Regions from separate parts of the Homo sapiens genome. Here all the other regions are linked to region 4. The links are contacts of gene promoters, found by promoter capture Hi-C in blood cells and fetal thymus (Javierre and others, 2016). All regions are on one chromosome and are shown on one strand. The core of a region is centred on a gene start or on the middle of the fragment in contact, and the rest is flanking DNA. Distances in the headings are between cores, read along the strand shown.

The links. The method cuts DNA at HindIII sites, captures the fragments that hold promoters and counts their contacts. A CHiCAGO score of 5 or more calls a contact.
Region 1: a fragment that was not itself captured here is called in contact with the fragment with the promoter of NRP2 in region 4 in 1 of 17 cell types (M2 macrophages); the score reaches 8.4 in M2 macrophages.
Region 2: a contact is called between a fragment that was not itself captured here and the fragment with the promoter of NRP2 in region 4, in 1 of 17 cell types (M2 macrophages). The highest score is 8.0, in M2 macrophages.
Region 3: a contact is called between a fragment that was not itself captured here and the fragment with the promoter of NRP2 in region 4, in 2 of 17 cell types (M2 macrophages and naive CD8 T cells). The highest score is 8.4, in M2 macrophages.
Region 5: a contact is called between a fragment that was not itself captured here and the fragment with the promoter of NRP2 in region 4, in 2 of 17 cell types (M1 macrophages and M2 macrophages). The highest score is 9.3, in M1 macrophages.
Region 6: a contact is called between a fragment that was not itself captured here and the fragment with the promoter of NRP2 in region 4, in 3 of 17 cell types (M2 macrophages, M0 macrophages and M1 macrophages). The highest score is 12.7, in M2 macrophages.
Region 7: a fragment that was not itself captured here is called in contact with the fragment with the promoter of NRP2 in region 4 in 2 of 17 cell types (M2 macrophages and M0 macrophages); the score reaches 9.7 in M2 macrophages.

Annotation. Positions count from the first base shown.
Region 1 is chr2:204,099,266-204,101,965 of GRCh38, reverse strand. No RefSeq gene overlaps it. Among named protein-coding and RNA genes, the nearest start is that of ICOS, 160 kb to the right of the region's middle. The HindIII fragment of the contact is 1,568 bases long and covers 662-2,229 here.
Region 2 is chr2:203,929,525-203,932,224 of GRCh38, reverse strand. No RefSeq gene overlaps it. Among named protein-coding and RNA genes, the nearest start is that of ICOS, 5.9 kb to the left of the region's middle. The HindIII fragment of the contact is 4,218 bases long and covers 1-2,700 here.
Region 3 is chr2:204,116,275-204,118,974 of GRCh38, reverse strand. No RefSeq gene overlaps it. Among named protein-coding and RNA genes, the nearest start is that of ICOS, 180 kb to the right of the region's middle. The HindIII fragment of the contact is 9,583 bases long and covers 1-2,700 here.
Region 4 is chr2:205,681,189-205,683,995 of GRCh38, reverse strand. It overlaps NRP2 (neuropilin 2), which reads right to left and starts at 1,495. Exons shown (of 17, transcript NM_003872.3): 1 at 633-1,495. The coding sequence starts at 705. RefSeq lists a silencer at 1,975-2,094. The HindIII fragment of the contact is 6,030 bases long and covers 1-2,807 here.
Region 5 is chr2:203,990,309-203,993,253 of GRCh38, reverse strand. No RefSeq gene overlaps it. Among named protein-coding and RNA genes, the nearest start is that of ICOS, 55 kb to the right of the region's middle. The HindIII fragment of the contact is 3,745 bases long and covers 1-2,945 here.
Region 6 is chr2:204,078,471-204,081,326 of GRCh38, reverse strand. No RefSeq gene overlaps it. Among named protein-coding and RNA genes, the nearest start is that of ICOS, 140 kb to the right of the region's middle. The HindIII fragment of the contact is 1,990 bases long and covers 497-2,486 here.
Region 7 is chr2:204,061,595-204,064,318 of GRCh38, reverse strand. No RefSeq gene overlaps it. Among named protein-coding and RNA genes, the nearest start is that of ICOS, 130 kb to the right of the region's middle. The HindIII fragment of the contact is 1,169 bases long and covers 696-1,864 here.

The sequences.
Region 1 (2,700 bases), core at 196-2,695, 1.6 Mb after region 4:
ATGTGTGTGGTTTTAAGCCGAAGTTTGTGGCAATTCATCACAGCAGCAGTAAAAACAAATATAGGATACAAATTCAGGATACATTTGGATAATTTTTAAGATAATTTTTTTTTCTATTTAAGATAATTGCTTTTTCTTACTGTTCTTGGGGTGTTCATTCCCATTTTCCCTAATATACAATGGGGCAAATGCTTGATGGATATGACTGACAAAAAAATGTAGAAAATTGAACTAATTTGGAATGGATAATTACATTAAACCGCTGTCTCTTTGGCAGAGAAGGCCTTACCTTGGAGCGCCAGAGAAGTCTCACTAGGGTAACAGTTTTAATTAGTCCAGCTCTGTCTCATATCCAATGCTCAGCTCTGCATCTGTTGATATTTCTCATTTACAATATGTAATAATTGAAATATTCCAGTATTAAGAAATAATTATTACTAGAGACACTGATGGGTTCAGCTATTATCTGGATGCAAAGTTTCATATTTCACTGTAAAGAAAATAATCTCTATCTTAAGAAATAATGTAATATTTTTTCAGATCTCTTAAAGCAGTCATCCTTTAAAGTAAAAGCTCCAGAAATGAATGACCATAACCTTCTTATTTATTTATATTTTAAATCCTCAAAGTATTGGCCCATCTCATTTTCTTAGTCAAAGCTTGCTTCCTGGTTTTGCCCTGCTAATGACCTCAGCTCCTCTTGATACTTTAGGACCAAATGCTCTTTGATTAATCATTCTCTGTGTTAATATCAAATGGCCCTTGAATTCTTCAAACAGATTGCTGCTTCTGTTAAATAATGTCCTAAATATACAAAGCAGATAAATGATGACCATTGAGCCAATGGGAACAGAACTGAGCTCCAAGACTGCATTGCAATTATAATGAAAAGACACATAACTGATGAGCTCCATATCTGAACTTAAAATGATTTGTGAAGCAAAAGATCAAGAGAAGTACAGGCTGAGGTCTCAAGTTAGAGTTGCTGTGATGAAGTATAAACTGGCGCTAGAAAGCATTTTGAAATTGCTTGATATACATGTATGTGTGCGTGTCTCTCTGTGTGTGTGCATATATATTTTTTTTCTTTGAAATGGTTAAATGCTTCAAGGAATAGAGCCTCTTTGGGGGGCAAAGGCCCAGAACGATATGCATCAGGGTTTTATTTCATTTCAGTCTCTTGGTTATTTTAATTTATGAGGTGTGGAGAATATTAGTTTTTTAGATGATTTAATATTTTATGTTGTAAGTGATCTGCAGTCAGTTTGTTAATTAGATACTGCAGACAGGCTGTTTAATATTATGTGTTGACTCTGCAGGAAAAAAGAAGTATAGAATATTTCTGATAGGCAAAAAAAAAAAAAAATCGAAGGCACATGATCAAAGTTCTCTTAGAGACCATGTGTTAGAGGTGCTTTGCTGTAGAACGAATTGTATTTTGCCCTTATAAAGGCTCCCAGAGTGTGCTAGAGATAATTGGAGCCCTCTATTACTTTGCTCCCTTAGAAGTTTTCTGGAGTTAGGCAGGAAAAGAAGACAGGAAACTGAGCCTTTAATTTAAATAAGAAAGCCATGTCTGGGAAAATTAGAATACTTTTGGAAGTTGGGAATCCATGGAAATGGATTGTCCTATTTTGATTTCCTCAGAGGACCAGTTTGAAGTAGTGATTTTATGTGATTTCCTTCTGGTCCTGTCCTCAATACCAACATCTCCTGAATAAAGAAATGATATGGTATCCCAGTATATTAGTTATATATTTAGCTTTTTAGTTGGAGACTTAGGAATGGGGGAAAACTGACATTGAAAATATAGATGCAAGGCCGGGCTCGGTGGCTCATGCTGGTAATCCCAGCACTTTGGGAGGCCGAGGCAGGCGGCCCACCTGAGGTCATGAGTTCGAGACCAGCCTGGCCAAGATGGAAGAAACCCATCTCTACTGAAAATACAATTAGCTGGGCATGGTGGCACACGCCTGTAATTCCAGCTACTTGGGAGGCTAAGGCAGGAGAATCGCTTGAACCCGGGAAACAGAGGTTGCAGTGAGCTGAGATCGTGCCATTGCACTCCAGCCTGGGCAACAAGAGTGAAACTCCATCTCAGAACAACAACAACAACAACAAATCCGAAAATATAGATGCATTCTCTTCTACTCCTGCTATAAAGGGAGGCTATGGTATAGTTTCTCTGGTTGGTGTCTACTACATGGGTTGGTTTTGCTGACCAAAGCTTTGCAAGAGCAAAGAACCCACCAACAAGGGGCTCTCTCACACAGCTCCATTAGATGTGTCTTATTTTGCTTTGTATAAAGCAAGTGTGCCTAACTCCAGTGAGATTTTTTAGTGAATATTCAACATATATCATAAGGTCAAAACAGACATAAATTGGGTGATTCATTTTAACTTCAGGTATGTGAAATTGAAGACTAATATTTCTCTAAAATAAAAACCTTTGCAAGGTGTTCAACATTCATAAGCAACGCAATAGTGACACATTATTCTGCGGCATGTTGTAAGGCTTTGAAGAAGTTTTGAGTTGTGCTTTATAAGAACAAAATGGTGGTACATAGTATAAATAAGAGAGTTAAAAATAATTCTCCAGTATAACAAAAACGGCACAAAAATTTATAGCCACCAACATAACTAGTATGTTTTCATTCATTTCTTAGCCTTTTGTCTGTTTTATCCCATCTATAATATCAG
Region 2 (2,700 bases), core at 62-2,561, 1.8 Mb after region 4:
CGATCTCTTGACCTTGTGATCTGCCCGCCTCAGCCTAAAGATGCCTTCTTTGCAAGTATGTTTGCAATGCTCCACAACTATTTATTGAATGAACAAGTGTTTGAAGAATCCTTGACTTTTGGAGGAACCATATGACCTTGGGAATGCTCACCAATGACAATTTTTCACTCTGAATCATAATGTGAGAGCAGAAAATTATCAAAACATGTTTGTATTTCACATTGAAATTAATTGAATAAATATATAATTCATCATCCTGATTCATCTCTCATCACTTGCCCATCTCTAATCATAAAACAAAAGTATATTCCATTTTGACAGCCAAATATTTTCTCATTTAAAGTTATTAATTAATCCATAAAGCCCAGAAAACTGATTATATATTTCCATGAGGGGTGAAAAAAATCAGCATGAGATGTGACTGCCAAATGGTATGATTGATATTTTTAACAAATATACTGCCACTTATTCATGTTGGCCTTCATTCCAATGATAGTATATTCCTCAAAACATAAGTAAGGCACCTCTCTGGATCCCATTCCTTCCAGCCTCTGCAGAGTTCAGGCTCCCTTAGTTCTGTCTTTGGCTCCTGAGTTACCATTCTACAGTTCTGTATTCATCTGTTCTCACACTGCTATGAAGAAATACCTGAGACTGAGTAATTTACAAAGATAAGACATTTACTTGACACACAGTTCCGCATGGCTTGGGAGGTCTAAGGAAACTTACACTCATGGCAGAAGGCACCTCTTCATAGGGCAGCAGCAGAGAGAATGAGTGCCAGCAAGGGAAATGCCAGATGCTTATAAAACCATCAGATCTCATGAGAACTCACTCACTATCATGAGAACAACGTGGGGGAAACCACCCTCATGATTCAATTACCTCCCATCACGTCTTTCCCATGACACATGGGGATTCTGGGGATTACAATTCAAGATGAGATTTGGGTGGGGATACAGCCAAACCATACAGCCAAACCTGCCCCTGGCCCCTCCCAAATCTCATGTCCTTACATTTCAAAACACCATCATGTCTTCCCAACAGTCCCCCAAAGTCTTAGCTCATTCCAGCATTAACCCAAAAGTCCAAGTCCAAAGTCGCATCTGAAACAAGGCAAGTCCCTTCCACCTATGAGCCTGTAAAGTCAAAAGCAAGTTACTTACTTCCTACATACAATGGGAGTGGTATGGTTTGGCTGTGTACCCACCCAAATCTCACCTTGAATTGTAATAATTCCCATGTGTCAAGGGCAGGGCCAGGTGGAGATAACTGAATTGTGGGGGTGGTTTCCCCCATACTGTTCTCATGGTAGTGAATAAGTCTCATGAGATCTGATGGTTTTATAAATAGGAGTTCCCCTGCACAAGCCCTCCTGCCACCATGTAAGACATGCCTTCACTTCTCCTTTGCCTTCCGCCACGATTGTGAGGCCTTCCCAGCCATGTGGAACTGTGAGTCCATTAAACCTCTTTCCTTTATAAATTACGCAGTCTCAGGAATGTCTTTAGTAGCAATGTGAGAACAGACGAATACAGGAGGTACATGCATTGGGTAAATACACGCATTCCAAATGGGAGAAATTGGCCAAAATGAAGGGGCTACAGGCCCCATGCAAGTCCGAAATCCAATAGGGCAGTCACTAAACCTTAAAGTTCTGAAATGATCTCCTTTGATTCCATGTCTCATATCCATGAGGTGGGCTTATAAGACCATCAGATCTCATGAGAATTCACTCACTATCGTGAGAACAGCATAAGGGAAACTGCCCCCACGATTCAATTATCTCCCACTTGGTCCCTCCTATGACCCATGGGATTAAGGAGATTACAGTTCAAGATGAGATTTGCGTGGGGCACAGCCAAACCATGCCACGTTGCTTCTCTACAGTTTATAACCAGCTAGAATCACACACATACACACACACACACACACACACACACACACAGCTTCAGCTGTACATTGCCGCTAGGGAATATGAATCCAGTGTAACCATCTCTTCTGATTTTTTCCAAAGACACATGAAATTCTAGTCTTTGTGGGAAACATCCCCATTTTTAAATTTTGGAGCTTATTCAAAAAGTTTAAAATACACCATGAGCCAACATTATAGGAAGCAAACAAAACATATCTAAAGATCCAGTTTGGCCCATGGACTATTCATTTTTAACTTCTGCTTTAAAGGATGACACTCAATTGGCAGTACATACATACATATATATATATATGCACATAAAATTCAAAGACCTTTGTTTTAGACCTGACTCTGTCACTTACCAACTGTGTGGTCTTGAGAAAGATGCCTAACCTCTCTGAGCGAAAGTTCACTCATTTGTAATCACAGAGGATCCTTGTGAGGACCAAAAGGTAATGTATATGAAAGCTCTTAAAAACTATTACATAGGCCGGGCGCGGTGGCTCACGCCTGCAATCCCAACACTTTGGGAGGCCAAGGCAGGCGGATCACGAGGTCAGGAGATCGAGATCATCCTGGCTAACACGGTGAAACCCCGTCTCTACTAAAAATACAAAAAATTAGCCGGGTGTGATGGTGGGCGCCTGTAGTCCCAGCTACTTGGGAGGCTGAAGCAGGAGAATGGCATGAACCCGGGAGGCGGAGCTTGCAGTGAGCCGAGATCGTGCCACTGCACTCCAGCCTGGGTGACAGAGCGAGACTCCATCTCAAAAAAAAAAAAAAAA
Region 3 (2,700 bases), core at 85-2,584, 1.6 Mb after region 4:
GATATCAATGTACTTTACTATATTTTATGTGATGTAGTGAAGTACCCAAAAGAAAGTGTTACCACTAAGAGCTATTTGCTTTCATATATAAGGGAGATGGTCTTCTCTACTATGAACAAGGTAGAGACAATGCACTATCTTCAATTCCAGTTGCTACCCCTTAAACACACACACACACATACACACACACACACAGTCTCAAACTGGAGGTTTGGGGGTCAACGTTTGTTCAGATAGCCCACCTAGCGCATACTAGCTGTGTGAACCAAGATCACTTACTTTATGAGCCACGCAGTTCCTCGTGGCTAATACAGGCCTTGCAGGATAGTTAGGACTAATACTCACCTAATACTAACCTTGCAGAATAGTTAGGATTATTATAGAACCCAGTCCAGGACCAAATTTGCAGTGGATCCTCAATAACTATCATTAGTAATAATATTTTCCTTGTGAAGTCTAGAGGAGGAGAACCAAATTACAGAAGTTTCTGTGTTTTGTAAAAAGTTGAGAGAACTGAGAGATTTTAGATTGAAGAAGAGACATGAACACAAATGGACTGAAGACTCCTTATGGGAAGATACAGGTCTATTCAACTTTGAATAAGACACTATAGACACTATAAGCTGCAAACTGAATAAATTCATAAGTTAAAGATAGCTGGATTTTAATACATAATATCTATAAGATAGAACAGGGATTGAACTTGTGTTTTTTGGTTCTAGGGGGCAGACCAGGACCAGTGGTTCAAAGTTACATAAGAAGCCAGTATCTCCTTATGATGGGAACAGGAGGCAGAGAAATTCTAGGCAGAAAAGGAAGGGGTCCCTGGTGAAGCCCCACCCTCAAGCCTAGAACCGTGGCCCAAAGTGAGAACATCCCCATTTTCCCACTCAAATGTTGCCTTTTCCAAAACCACCCTGGCCCACCCCGTCCCCCATCCCATACCCATAAAAACCCCAGGCTCCACTGGCAGAGGAGCAGCAGAGAAGGAGAGAAGAGAAGCAGCCAGACGTCAGAGAGAAGCAGCTTGACTTCAGAAGGATGGCTTGACGGTGGGACTTTGGAGAAGAGCCTGGTCAGGGATGGCCAGACTCCAGGGGAAGACCACCTGCCTGCTCCACCCCCTTTCCAGCTCCCCTTCCCACTGAAAGCCACTTTCATCAGCAATAAAATCCTCTGTATTCACTACTCTCCAATTCGTTCATGTGACCTGATTCTTCTTGGACACCAAACAAGAGCTTGGGAGCCACGGATGTGGGCAGTTGAGTTGTTTAACACTTAAGCTATCCATGGATGGCAAAGCTAAAAGAGCACTGTAACGTATGCCCTCTGGGGCTCCAGAAGCTGCTGTGAGGCTGCACAGAGTTCTGCTCCTGCCAGTGCCCAGAAACACTTGTCCTGGCTCCTGCACCCACTCACCTGAGTGCTCCCCCTCCCGTGAGGGGTTAACTGCAGCAGGCTGAGTAAGCGAGGTGCCCCAAGGGGTCACGGAAAATTTCCTGTTTCACTTATTTTAAAGAACAACTTTATCACAATTAGAAGTGGCCAAAACTAGAATGGGCTTCCTCACGGAAAAGTGCATTTCCTATAAATAGAGGTATGGAAGAGAGACTGGAAAGAATTGAGGGCTAGACCAAATGATACCTGCACCCCTTCCAACAACTTTGACCTTTCTATTACCATCTCAGCTTAGATCAAACAATAACCTGATTGTCAGTAGGTTCTCAATTATAATTCCCAACCTCACCATGCTAGCACTGAACAATCAGATGAGATCAGGCCTCTGGTACGGGCCCAAAGAGAAAAACTTGCTAGCCTGTTGTTGAACTCCCACCCAAATGGATATGAGATGCCAGGAAAAAGAATGTCCATTGAGAAGCTATTCTTGCTTGTCTTGGCTGCTTTCTGTTCAGTTATGAACATAAGTTTCACGGAAACCATAAGCATTTAATAAAATACCTTAGGTAAGAGTAAAAGAGAAGCTGCCCAAACTCTCTGCATTATGGTCAGGAATTCTTGGATTAAATAGAATTCAATCTAAGTGCTGGCTGAATTGTGTAGTGATGTATAAAAATCTTTTTGAACAATAGTTAATGTGTTCATGTTGTCAAAAGACAATATAGTTAAAATGAGGAGCAATCTCAGTTATGGTGCTTAAAATCTGCTTTATCTGGGAGAACATTGTAAAGTGTCTAAGGTTATGACTTAGTTGCTTGGCTCCACTTAATATCTGTAGACACTGGGTGCCTCTTTTTGACTGCTTTACATTTGATACTGACAAATTTTTAGTTATTTCTGTAAAGGATAAAGCCAATCTGGATAAACTAGGTCACCATTGTACAAACAGTCATGGCCTGAAATAAGCAATAATTAACCAAAAAGGGCCAGACAGACATGGAAGTTGTATGTGCTGTGCCTTCACTTGTGTATTTTAAAGTTTCCTTTCTCTGCTGTGCTCACTCTTTCCTCCCCCATCCTCATCAATGTGTCGCTGATTTTGGACTCATGAAATAGGGCCAGGGCCGTTTCAGGCAGCACTACAGGAGACTTCTCATTTGGGCCTGTTTATATTTTGCCAAGGAAAACTGCAGTTGAATTGTGACCACGTGTTTCTTTTTTTTTATTTTTGGCCCAGTCACGGAGAAGAAACAGGCTTTCTAGCTGGGCAAACACCCAGTACATCAATGCAGCTCAGAATGC
Region 4 (2,807 bases), core at 246-2,745:
ACACATGGATGAAGAGAGAAGAGACCAACCGTCTTGGTTGCCAGCAGCACCCAACCCCAAGCCCCTATCTCAGCCACAAGCCAACTTGCTCCACCAGCCTGAGCCTTATGATTCTGAAGCATAACCAGTCATTCTCCAAAGAATCTACAGCATCTGAAAACCAAAACTAAACTCTTGTCTTTCCCAAGCCCTTCAGTTAACATTGCTCAATGTAGCTAAGTGGAGGGAATGCAAATGATTTATATTTCACTGGCTAGTTGGAGAAACTCAAGGGAGATGTGTTCTGCTTCAAGACAGGGAAAAAAAATTCCCAAAAACTGTAATGCAAAGGCTTTGTAGTATTTTTAAACCTTTGATTCAGTCCATATGTGACATATGAACACCGCCAAATTCTGTTTCAAAACACACTCACACACACACACACACACACACACACACACTCCTAGCAGGAGAGGAAAGTTGGGTTTTAGCAGCCGTGGTGGTGTAGGAAGGGCCGGCTGGGATCTCTCTTTAAATTATTGAGTACTGAGGGAGCCTTCTTCTGTGCCGTTCTGCGTGGCCTTCCTGCTTTAGCGGTCACTTTTAAAGGGGAAACCATGTTGCAATAAATAGAAAAACTTTCAGTGGCTTACCTGGTTGGCCTCTCACTTGGTGTCTTGAAAAGTAGAGGGCTAAGAAAACCCAGGTGAGAGGAAACATATCCATTTTGGAGAAGGTGGCTCTTTCCAGAGCTGGGTTCGTAGGTTTCTTGTTTAAATCTTTGTGTTTTTCTCTCTTTTATTTTCCTCCTTACAACGTCTTATGCAGAGGTTTCTAATGGTCAGCGTTTCCCTCCTGAGTCCTGGTGGCTTGTCTTCACCTCTATTCTTGCTGGAATTTCCACCTCACCAGGAGGAGAGTAGCTCCTGAAATCAGCAAAGAGGGAACAAGCCGGGAAGAGAACACGGTTTTCCTCTTAAAAACAAAACGCATATATGTTCTCTCCAGTTCCTCAAAGTGTCATTTCCTTTATCCTACAAATATCACGAGTATTTCCCGAAAGCCAAGCGTAACAATAATGATAATAATAATAATTAAAACCAAGACTTGCCTTGGGCATCACACGGCCCCCAGGCAGCTGTGTGATCTCAGAGGCGTAAACTGACACACATCCCGCGGCACCCTTGACGGACACACGGGCGGAGGCAGCCGCCGCCGGACAGCCCGAGTGGAAGGCGGCCGCCCTGCTCTTGTCCTCGCCGGGTTCCCCCGGCGGGAGCCTCCCCCAACGGCTACACCCGCTTGGCCAGCCTCTCGAGGGGAGTCTGAGGAAGGAAGCTGCTGCTGCTGTTGCTGCTGCTGGTGCGGCGGCGGTGGCGGCTGGGATCGCCTGGGAGTGAGCGAGCCCCTCTCCGAGTTCGCTGGCGCCCGCCCTCACCTCCACCTCGCCGAGTGTCTGTGCGGCTGAGGATGTGCTGGGGGCCGGCTGCAGGCTGGTGCCTCGCTCGCGATCTCTGCCTCCCCTCCGGCTCCCCACTGCCTTTTCAGGCCGAGCAGCATGTGGATGTCAGAGCCGCGGCAGAGCTATCCGATTACGCGCCGGCTCAGGGCCCGCCCCTTCTGTGTTCCTGATTAAAGAGGCAGCCGCGGAGACGCGCGGCGCAGAGCAGAGTGCCGCGGCACCCAGCTCGGGCGGGGCGGCGACGGCTTCTCTCGGGCCGCCGCAGGATCGAAGTTAAGGCGGCGCCCATCCCACCACCCCTCGCCCGCCCCGCATCTCCCGATCGCCCCCGCGCACCTCCGCGCCGGGCCGCCGGTGCGTAACGCCCTGGGGAAGAAGCGCCCCCGGGCACCCCCAGGGCGCGCCGCCTTGGCCGTGTCGCCCCCACCCAAGGGAGACCCCGGGGGGACGGGGGGAAAAGCCTTGTTCCCCCTAAATTCCACGACTCCGATGCCACACACGCAGAACCCAACACAATGCCACGCGCGATGGCGTTACAAGAGGAGTTGGGTGGCGTACGGTGTTTGGGGTAGCGAGCCGGTCGGCAGCTCAGCCATGCGTTCGAACAGGCAGCGGTGCGTGGCGGCGACACACACCGTCAGCCCGGTCTGAATAAAACCCCAAACACTCGCTGCGTTTACTACTCAGATCCTTTGTTATGTCCCAAACATGCTCTGCTCCTCTCTGGGTTAGGATTTCGTTACCCCTGCGCCTTTAACTGTAACTACCCTAAAAAGAGGAAAGACTTTCTTCAGCAAATAATTTCTTCAGGTAATTAAATTGGATTCCATCAAGTTCCCCCGAAAAAGTATAGGTGCTTGAAGGCGTCTCATCCAAATGCTACTGTAACTACGTCTATTCACATTTTCCCCCATGGAAACGTGGTCACAAAGCCTAGAGAAAGAAAACATCATTATGCCAACTATTTTTAAATGGAGGCGTGAAAACTGTTTAGAGGGAACTGCAAGCTAACAGTTGGGGAAACACTTGTATCTTTGTTTCTGAGGATGGCTTTGTGGATTCCAAACTGTCTTGCTTCACCAGACACCTATTACTACATTATCATAAAGACTGCAACAGAAACAGCCTAAATTACACCCTGCACATGTACACCTTTTCTGCCACAAAAGAGGTATATGAAAAATAAGAAAATTCAGAAAAATATTTACAGATTAAGATTTTTTTTAAATTAAGAAAGTAAAATTTTCTGTAGATTAAGAAAAATACAGTTTCGGTGACGAGAAACACACACCTGACTACCCATTTTCTTCTTGGCTTGTACTTGTGGATTCTTCTGGGTGGTTTCCCTCCTTATCTGGACTTGCCC
Region 5 (2,945 bases), core at 76-2,575, 1.7 Mb after region 4:
TGACTGGCATTGAGTATAAATGTACACCGTAGACATTTGAGGGTTTAAGCCACAAAGCAGTGGAAGCTAAATATGGTAGTAGTATATGAAGTGGGCTTAAGAGAGGGAGATTACGACAGAAAGCAAACATATTGTTGCAGTAGTCTCAATTTAAGGTGAAGTGCAGAGATCTGGGTGACTGTCTAGAGGTGGAAAAGGAAGCCGTATCTAAAAGACACTTAGAGGGAAAAAGTATGTCCTGATTAAGGAAGCAAGACCAAGGGGGAGTGAGGGTGTTATGCAAGAAGAAGGCGGGTACAGAATACCCCAAGGTTTTAATAACAGGAAGCAGAGAGAACGGGCTATATAGTATCATTAATAAAATAGGAAAATCTTTCATTCAGTCATTTGCTCAATAACATTAACTCTGCACTTTTACCCCCAGATCCTACGTGGTGTATTGGAATCCAGAGATGAACACAGCAGTCCCTGCCTTCCAGGAAATAACAATCTAGTCAGAAGGAGAAACTATCTTGGGGAAGAAAGATGAGTATTTACTCATAAGTTAATAGATCCAAAAAAAACTTAAATGTCACCTAGAGTACTACTCACCCTACCCCACCTGAAACAAACTTTAAAGATGAGAAAATGAAGTCCAAAGACAGTAAGTGGTTACCAAAATTCACACCTCCAGTTATTGTCAGTCCAGAAGGTGAGCCCAGAATTCTTGATGTCATAGCATACCACCATCTATGTTTGACACTTGATCATGTATTGTCTGTGACATCATTCATAGAGTATCAAATAAAGGAATGGAAGTCTATGGCAAACTGCAAACCATAGAAGGTAAACTGTGGCTAACTCACTTCTCACGCGCTGGTGGTCTTTTTATCGCCTCGCAAGATTCTAAGTTATATCCAAGGCCCATGCATCCAATGTCTGTGGGAATGAGGATGTCATCCACCATCCAGATGAAAGCCTGCCTCTCCTCTCTCCCCTATTGCCTGTACCCAAAGATTCTTAAAGTCTTGTCACTCTATCTCTTTGATATTGTTCAAACTGATCACTTCATTTATACCACTGCCACTAGTACCTTAGTCCAGGCCCTCATTCCAGTTGTTGCCTAATTTTTGGCCTGCTCCACTTCAATCTATCATTTTCACTCTGCCATCAAAGGGCCAAATGTCATTCCTCTACTTCATTGACTACAATGTTTGTTCATTGACTACAGGATAGGGTCCAATCTCCTTAGTATGATCAGAAGTTCTTTTTCTTCCAGAAGAACTTTCTTGCCATTCATTTCCAAGTACCCTATGGCCTCCATAAAAAACTACCCACCATTATCAGAACACCTCAAATTCTTTAATTTCATATGCCTTTGCATATACTGTGTATTTTGCCTTTTTTTCTCTTCTTACTACTTGAACTTCTACTCATCCTTCAATGCCCATCTCAAAATCATCTTCCTTAAATATAGATTTCTGTTTATTGTATTTATTCATAACACACACCATGACAAAAAATAAATGCAGATAATGTCACATACAGAGATACGCACTATTTAGCAAAGTTAAATATATTCAAGTTGGCAAATTATGGGAAAATAAGATGAAGACAGGAGTGATGTTAGGCTGCAAAGTGTTTATCTTACAATCTTATGTATTTGCTGGCCTTTCACAGTTCTTCACTTAAGCCTCTGCAACCTTTGTATGTTTATGTGTTTTACTCTTCCCCTAGACCGTGAGTCCATGAGGAAAAGAAACTCATCTTCATGATCTCTGTATCACCAGTTTCTCCAATAATATGTGGCACTTATTAAGCACTCAATACATAGTCACTGGATAAAAGAATAAATGAATGGATAAATGTATATCATACTCATCTTTATACCCCATATACTAAATAATTTATATATAATGTGTGAAGTGATGAAAGGAAATTCTGAGAAATATTCAAGTACCTAGAGATATGGTCATCCCCTTTGGGAATAATAGATTAATCTTTGGGAATACATTAAATATCAAGAAAGAAAATTTAGAATGAAAAGAAATGGGAAAAAGAAGCCAATGAAAAAGAAAAAAGGGAGTGGTCAAATAGGAAGAAGCAGTAGGGAGACAGAAAAGACAGGAAGCGTGATGGGTCCATAGCTGTGAATGCTCAGGAGAGGCAAGCCCATCTTGAGTCTAATGTGTATTCTCCATGCCAGGCATAGAGTAGGCGCTAAATAAACATTGTCATGTCAGAAGTTGGAGAGAGAAACTTTAAGGTCCAAAGTCAGGAGCACAGAAAGTTGAGTGACTTCTTTGTCCTCAGATTCAGTCTGGGCCTCCGTATGAACACGCTGTCACACAATTTGCTATATTTACATTTCCATCAGCTTTAACTCATTTTTGGCTACCTGTTCCTCTAGACTCTAGAGCTCTCAGAAGCAACCCCTTTGTTGACATTTATTCTCCCTGGTTGTTCACTTTTGGGTGAATAGGCATTCTTTTCAGATCCCATTTGATTTCTGCATCCGCCTAGGCATTCCTGACTTACTCTTACCTTAGGTGTAACCCATGGATCACCCATCCTGGGGTAGTCCCACCTTACTCTTCAAATGTATATACACCACCCCTGGCAGTTACACAGCTCGGAAACTCTCATCTCCTTCCTTGTTCCAAACCCTAATGCGTCTTGGCCCTAACAGACTTTGAGATTGAAATACACGTTGTCTCTTGAACTAAGTATATTGTATTTACTCAAAAAGAAGACTAGGTTGCATTGGGTATTTTTCTCTCTTTTGTTTTTTTTTTTTGAGACGGGGTCTCACTCTGTCACCCAGGCTGGAGTGTGGTGGCGTGATCTTGGCTCACTGTAGCCTCTGCCTCCCGGGTTCAAGCTATTCTCTCGCCCCAGCCTCCTAAGTAGCTGGGATTACAGGCACGAGCCACTATGCCTGGCTACTTTTTTGCGTTTTTAGTAGA
Region 6 (2,856 bases), core at 242-2,741, 1.6 Mb after region 4:
TATGGCTTCAGAGATTAGATTATTTCATCAACTATAAATCTTTGGGCTTCTATTGTGAATCTACTGACTCTGAATTCATGTTTTAGCTAAGTAATCTTGATCTCAGAATCAGTAAAAGTAAGTTACCAAATTCTGTTTTTTTAGATCTTCATTTTTCTAATTAATCCCCTATAATTTTCAGTGCATCTACTTATGATTTGTGTATGTTCCTAAACAACAAAAAAAAGAAGTTTAAAAGTTATTCAGTGGATACTATATTGACTGTTCTTTTCTACACTGAATTTTTTTTACATAAATAGAGCTATATTTGAGTCACATGTTATATTTGATCCTGGAGGACATCCAACAGCAAGTTTTCTAGAATCCCTGAGTCTGATTCATCTCTATCTTTACAACATTTCCCGAGATCTCAGGAGTCCATGGCTCCCAAGGTCATTCCCCTTATGAATAACAGTATCACCTTGAACTCAGTGTCAGCCAATAGTTACCCAAAGCTTAATTGGAAGAAACAATTTATGGAAGTGTCCTGGTGTCCACTCATGCCTCTGACTCTTTAAAAATCTATCTTGAGATTAAGCTAGATGTCAGAAAGTTGTTCCCTAAGACCTCATCAAATTGGTCCTCTGTTGGATTGCTTTAACATTAAGTTCAATGTCACCAGCCTAAAAGGAGGGGCGTTATCAGAAGCAGACTTGTGAAGCTCATTGTATCATCTATGAGGATGTTGTTGAAGGTATTATCAACTAGATTGCACAATGTCTCCTCTTTGAGGACCTATGTGACTAGTTTCTTTCAGGCTTCAGTGCCAGGAATAGCTAGGCCACTCCTGATCACCTAGTTTTATCTTATAAAGTGTAGGAGGATTGAATTCCACTTTATACATTGCCTATTAAAGAGCTTGGAGCAAGTTAGTAGTACCTCATGACATATGTTTGTGCTCCAGCCTCTTTGATAGTGTTATCTTTTTCCCCCCAACTGCTCTTATTTTCTTATTTCTCTTATTTCCTCAACTATTTATTTCTAATTGAATTGCACATTATGATACATACACATAAATTACAAAGAAACAAATATAGACACAAAAACTAGACTTTAGAAAGTTTACACTTATGCATATTTATAGATGTATTTCTTTTTAAACACATTTCAAAATATACCATTCAGCAGGGAAAAAAAATACATGGTGTTTGGCACTACACAACACCAGTATGAAAATTTTCTGTATCTTACAGAGAAAATACAGTTTATCTCTCGAGTAGGAAGCTATAAAACAAATACAGGAATGTATGCATACTCTGCATTTACAGATCCACACAAACAATTGCATGTAAAAGCACTTAAGGGTTAGGAAGCCACTGAGAAAAAAGCCAGGAAACTAACTTTAGATCATCTTGTTCTACCAGTCTGCAAATGACTATAATAACACCGTTAATATTTCCAGAATAAAGAGTTATAATATCATGGAGTTTCGATATCATCAAAATCTATATTCATTCATTCATTCCATAAACATATATGAAACAATGCATTAGGCACAAGGGATACTTGGATGAATGAGACACAGCTTACTGCAATAGGAAATATGTAGGATATACATGAGAAGCATCCTTCAGTGTTCATTATGTCTTTGAAACATCCAGGTAGATATTGAAGTAGAACAGAATATTCTCAACATCATAGTTCAACCTAGTCTTTTATAGATACAAAAAGATGTTGGTTGTCTCAGGGCAGCTCATCTTGCTGGGTAAGGAACATGTTCCTGGGGTGAAGAATGGATACTGGAAACTGTGCTCCTTTTCAAGGCAGCACTGAATAGGTGAATTAATTCACTAAATGACATTCCTGTGGCTGCCAAAGCTAATGCTACCCAAACAGTAGTTTATCATCTTGAAACCATCGCTGTCATCGTTTTCTTCTCTTTTCATTTGCCTATATCTTTCAAGTAACTTTAAAGTAAGTCACCAAGTGAACATTTTCTGATATTGTAATAATTATGCGGACCTAAGAGACAGAAAAATTTTGCCCTGAGCCATGAGAATGCTCAGAAAATGTAGACTTCTGTTTGAGAATCGTGATTCCAAAGCCATTTACTTTGATTAAAGTACATCCTAAGGTTTCCAGGTAATATTGGCAGCCAAGGGTCCTTTGTTTATTTCAATATTTAAGTAGGACCAAGGAAGAAACTAGTCTATAAAATTAAGTGAGTTGAAAGATCAAAGTTATTGAGTTGAACTGCACCTGGATCAAGATGACAGTAAGTTTAGTCTTCAAACACAGATATAACAACCTTTATATGGCATGCCAATTAGGTTACGGTTCAACTGCATCCTGAATTATCAACTGCTGGATCAAGGGAGACCCTGATCACAAACATTGTAATAATTCAATTTTGAGGCCACTAAGGTTTGGGACTTTTCTGAGAAGTCTGATAAGAGTCTATTTGGTTTGTTTTTCTGCTGTACATAGTATGCTTTTTGGGGAAAGCTTGGTACAGTTACCCAATGAGTAGAAAAATGGATTTATAAGTCAGGAGGCCGCAAATATCTTCCCTTCACAAAGCTAATTAAAATATCTTCCCTTCACAAAGCTAACTAAAATATCTTCCCTTCACAAAGCTAACTAAAATATCTTCCCTTCACAAAGCTAACTGGCTCTCTAAAGGATTGAGCATTTACGATCTTAATGCCTGAAATCTAAGGAATGTGAAAAATAATGGACAGGTATGTGGAATGACTGCTGTCAAACCCGATTTCTACTAGAGCTTCTTGTTTCTGTTATTTTTATCTGGTTTCAGAAATGCAGTGTCGCCACTACATTCCTAGCATTGACCAGAAGTGGAGACTGCAGCACTTCACC
Region 7 (2,724 bases), core at 31-2,530, 1.6 Mb after region 4:
GTAATGCAAGCCATGGGGAGCAACTTTAAATACAGTGAAGCTTTGCTCACTCTTGCTCGCCCGCTGCTCACTTCCTGTTGTGCGGCCCAATTCCTAACAGGCCACAGACTACCACCTATCTGTGGTCCAGGGATTGAGGACCCCTGCCCCAGGGGAAATAAATATCTTTTCCTCCAAATTGCTAGGTTCATGGCTGAAATTCTTTTAACAAAAGACAGATTAAAGACAGAAAACCATACAAGTTCATTTAATATAAGTTTTATATGACACAAAAGTCTTCACAAAGAGATAAAAACCCAAAGAAACAAATAAATGTGTATTTTTATGCTTAGGTTTGATGAAGAGTTGAATAGTCACAGAGAAGCATGATTGGACAAAGGGGTTTGTTCTAATGGTAATACACTGCAGGGGGTGAGTCGGGGGACTTAGCAAGGCCTGTTTGTTCAGGTTCTTCTCTGTGTCCCTGTGTCTTCAGAGATAAGGAAGTTTCTTTCTTCCAGGTATGGGGAGGATCCCTCTTGAATTAGGGTCCTATGACTTGCTTCACAGGAGAAGGATGAAAGGAAGGTGAGAGTGGCCCTCCTACGTTCCATGACCTCCTTCTGCTGTTCCCTCAAATGCCAAGGTGCCATATTTTGGGGTAGCATGTCCTGAATTCCATCAATACCTAAAGCCCCTTTTTTCACTGTAAAGCTTTTCCATTCCCCTGACTGCCTGTGAGTCTCTACCAAAATGCAAGTGATGGTCCCTTGCTGTATAGCAAGCTACAAATTAATAGACTATTCTCTCTCTCTTCTTCTCTCTCTCCCTCTTATTTATTTCTGCAATTCCATTCTTTCTTTATTTGTTCATTTCCACAAATTCAAACCCTAGTTGTTCAAAATATTTCAATCTGGGGTATCCCTCACACCTGAAGGAAACACTAAAGTTCAGATTTAGGAAAACTACATTTGCTCTGTAAAGAAATAGAACTCTGTCATTCATATTGTACTACATTCATATCAGACAAAGAAGAAAATTCTTATCAGAAAAAGGAAAAACTGGCCATGCCTGGTGGCTCACGGCTGTAATCCCAGCATTTGGGGAGGCTGAGGCAGGTGGATCACTTGAGGCCAAGAGCTCCAGACCAGCCTGGCCAACATGGCAAAACCCAATCTCTACTAAAGATACAAAAAAATTAACCAGGTGTGGTGAGGCACACCTGTAGTTCCAGCTACTCTGGAGGCTGAGGCACGAGAATCACTTGAGCCCAAGAAGAGGAGGTTGCAGTGAGCCAAGATGGCACCACTGCACTCCAGCCGGGATGACACAGGGAAACTCTGTCAAAAAGAAAGAAAGAAGGAAGGAAGGAAGGAAGGAAGGAAGAAGGAAGGAAGGAAAGAAAGGAAGGAAGGAAGGAAGGAAAGAAAGAAAGAAAGAAAGAAAGAAAGAAAGAAAGAAAGAAAGAAAGAAAGAAAGAAAGAAAGAAGGGAAGGAAGAAAGAAAGAGGGAAGGAAGGAAGGAAGGAAAGAAAGAGAAAGAAAGAGATGGCAAGGAAGAAAGGGAAGAAGGAAGGAAGGAAGGAAGGAAATAGGAAAAGCTCTTTCTCTGCTTTTTTCCCCTGTAACATGTTTATTAAGATATAATTCACATACCATACAATTCCACCCATTTAGAACGAATACTTTCAATGGTTTTCCATATATTCACAGAGTTGTGCAACCATCACCTTATGCGTTGAATTTTAGGTTTCAGGCCTTACAAGGTTTCATGTGTCCCAGATTGAAATACTGTAATAGCTAACATTTATAGAGTGCTTACTATGAGCTAGGCACTGTGCTCAGTGGTTCATGTGTATTGCCCCATGGAGTCCTCTTGGCAAGCTTATGGAGTAGGTACTATTAGTGTCACCACTATTTTACAGGGTAGAAAGCAGTAGCACAGAGTTCCGTGGCTGGCAAGCTTGGAACCAAGATGAGGACCAGTCACGTGAATTTTGCCACTTTTTAAAAAATTAGTCTAATAGACTTTGCTATACTTATGAGAAAATTTTTAGAAAAGAACAGTTTTCTTTCTTAGGTTTTCATACCCTTACTTCTAGACTTAGCTCCACCAGGCTTCCTGAGTCAACTGAGCTCTTGGAATTTGTGAAGTTTTCAGAAATGATGTCAATTTCTCCCATCAGTTACTACTAGAGTAAATTCTATCTTCACATTTCAAAACAGATTTCTTAGGTTCATCACTCATCTGGATATTTCCACATGGTTCCTGTTTTAATGTTATTTTCCAGCTGGTGAGCCTCCTTGCTCCCCATGACCTTCTTAGAAAAAGGTGTATGTGTAGGAACAGAAAAACAAACACCTCATGTTCTCACTCATAAGTGGGAGTTGAACAATGAGAACATATGGATATAGGGAGGGGCCTGTTGGGGGGTGGGGGGGCAAGGGGAGGGAGAGCATTAGGACAAATACCTAATGATGCGAAGCTTAAAACCTAGATGATGGGTTGATGGGAGCAGCAAACCACCATGGCACATGTATACCTATGTAACACACCTGCACATTCTGCACATGTATCCCAGAACTTAAAGTAAAATTTAAAAAAAAAAAAAAAGAAAGTAAAGAAAAAGTTGTATGTGATGGGGAGGTCTGGCAGGGAGTGTGTGAGAGGCAGGCTGAGGCTATTGTCATAATCGACTGTCATTGAAATCAAGTCCTCTAGCCAGAGCATTGCTTCAACAGCAAA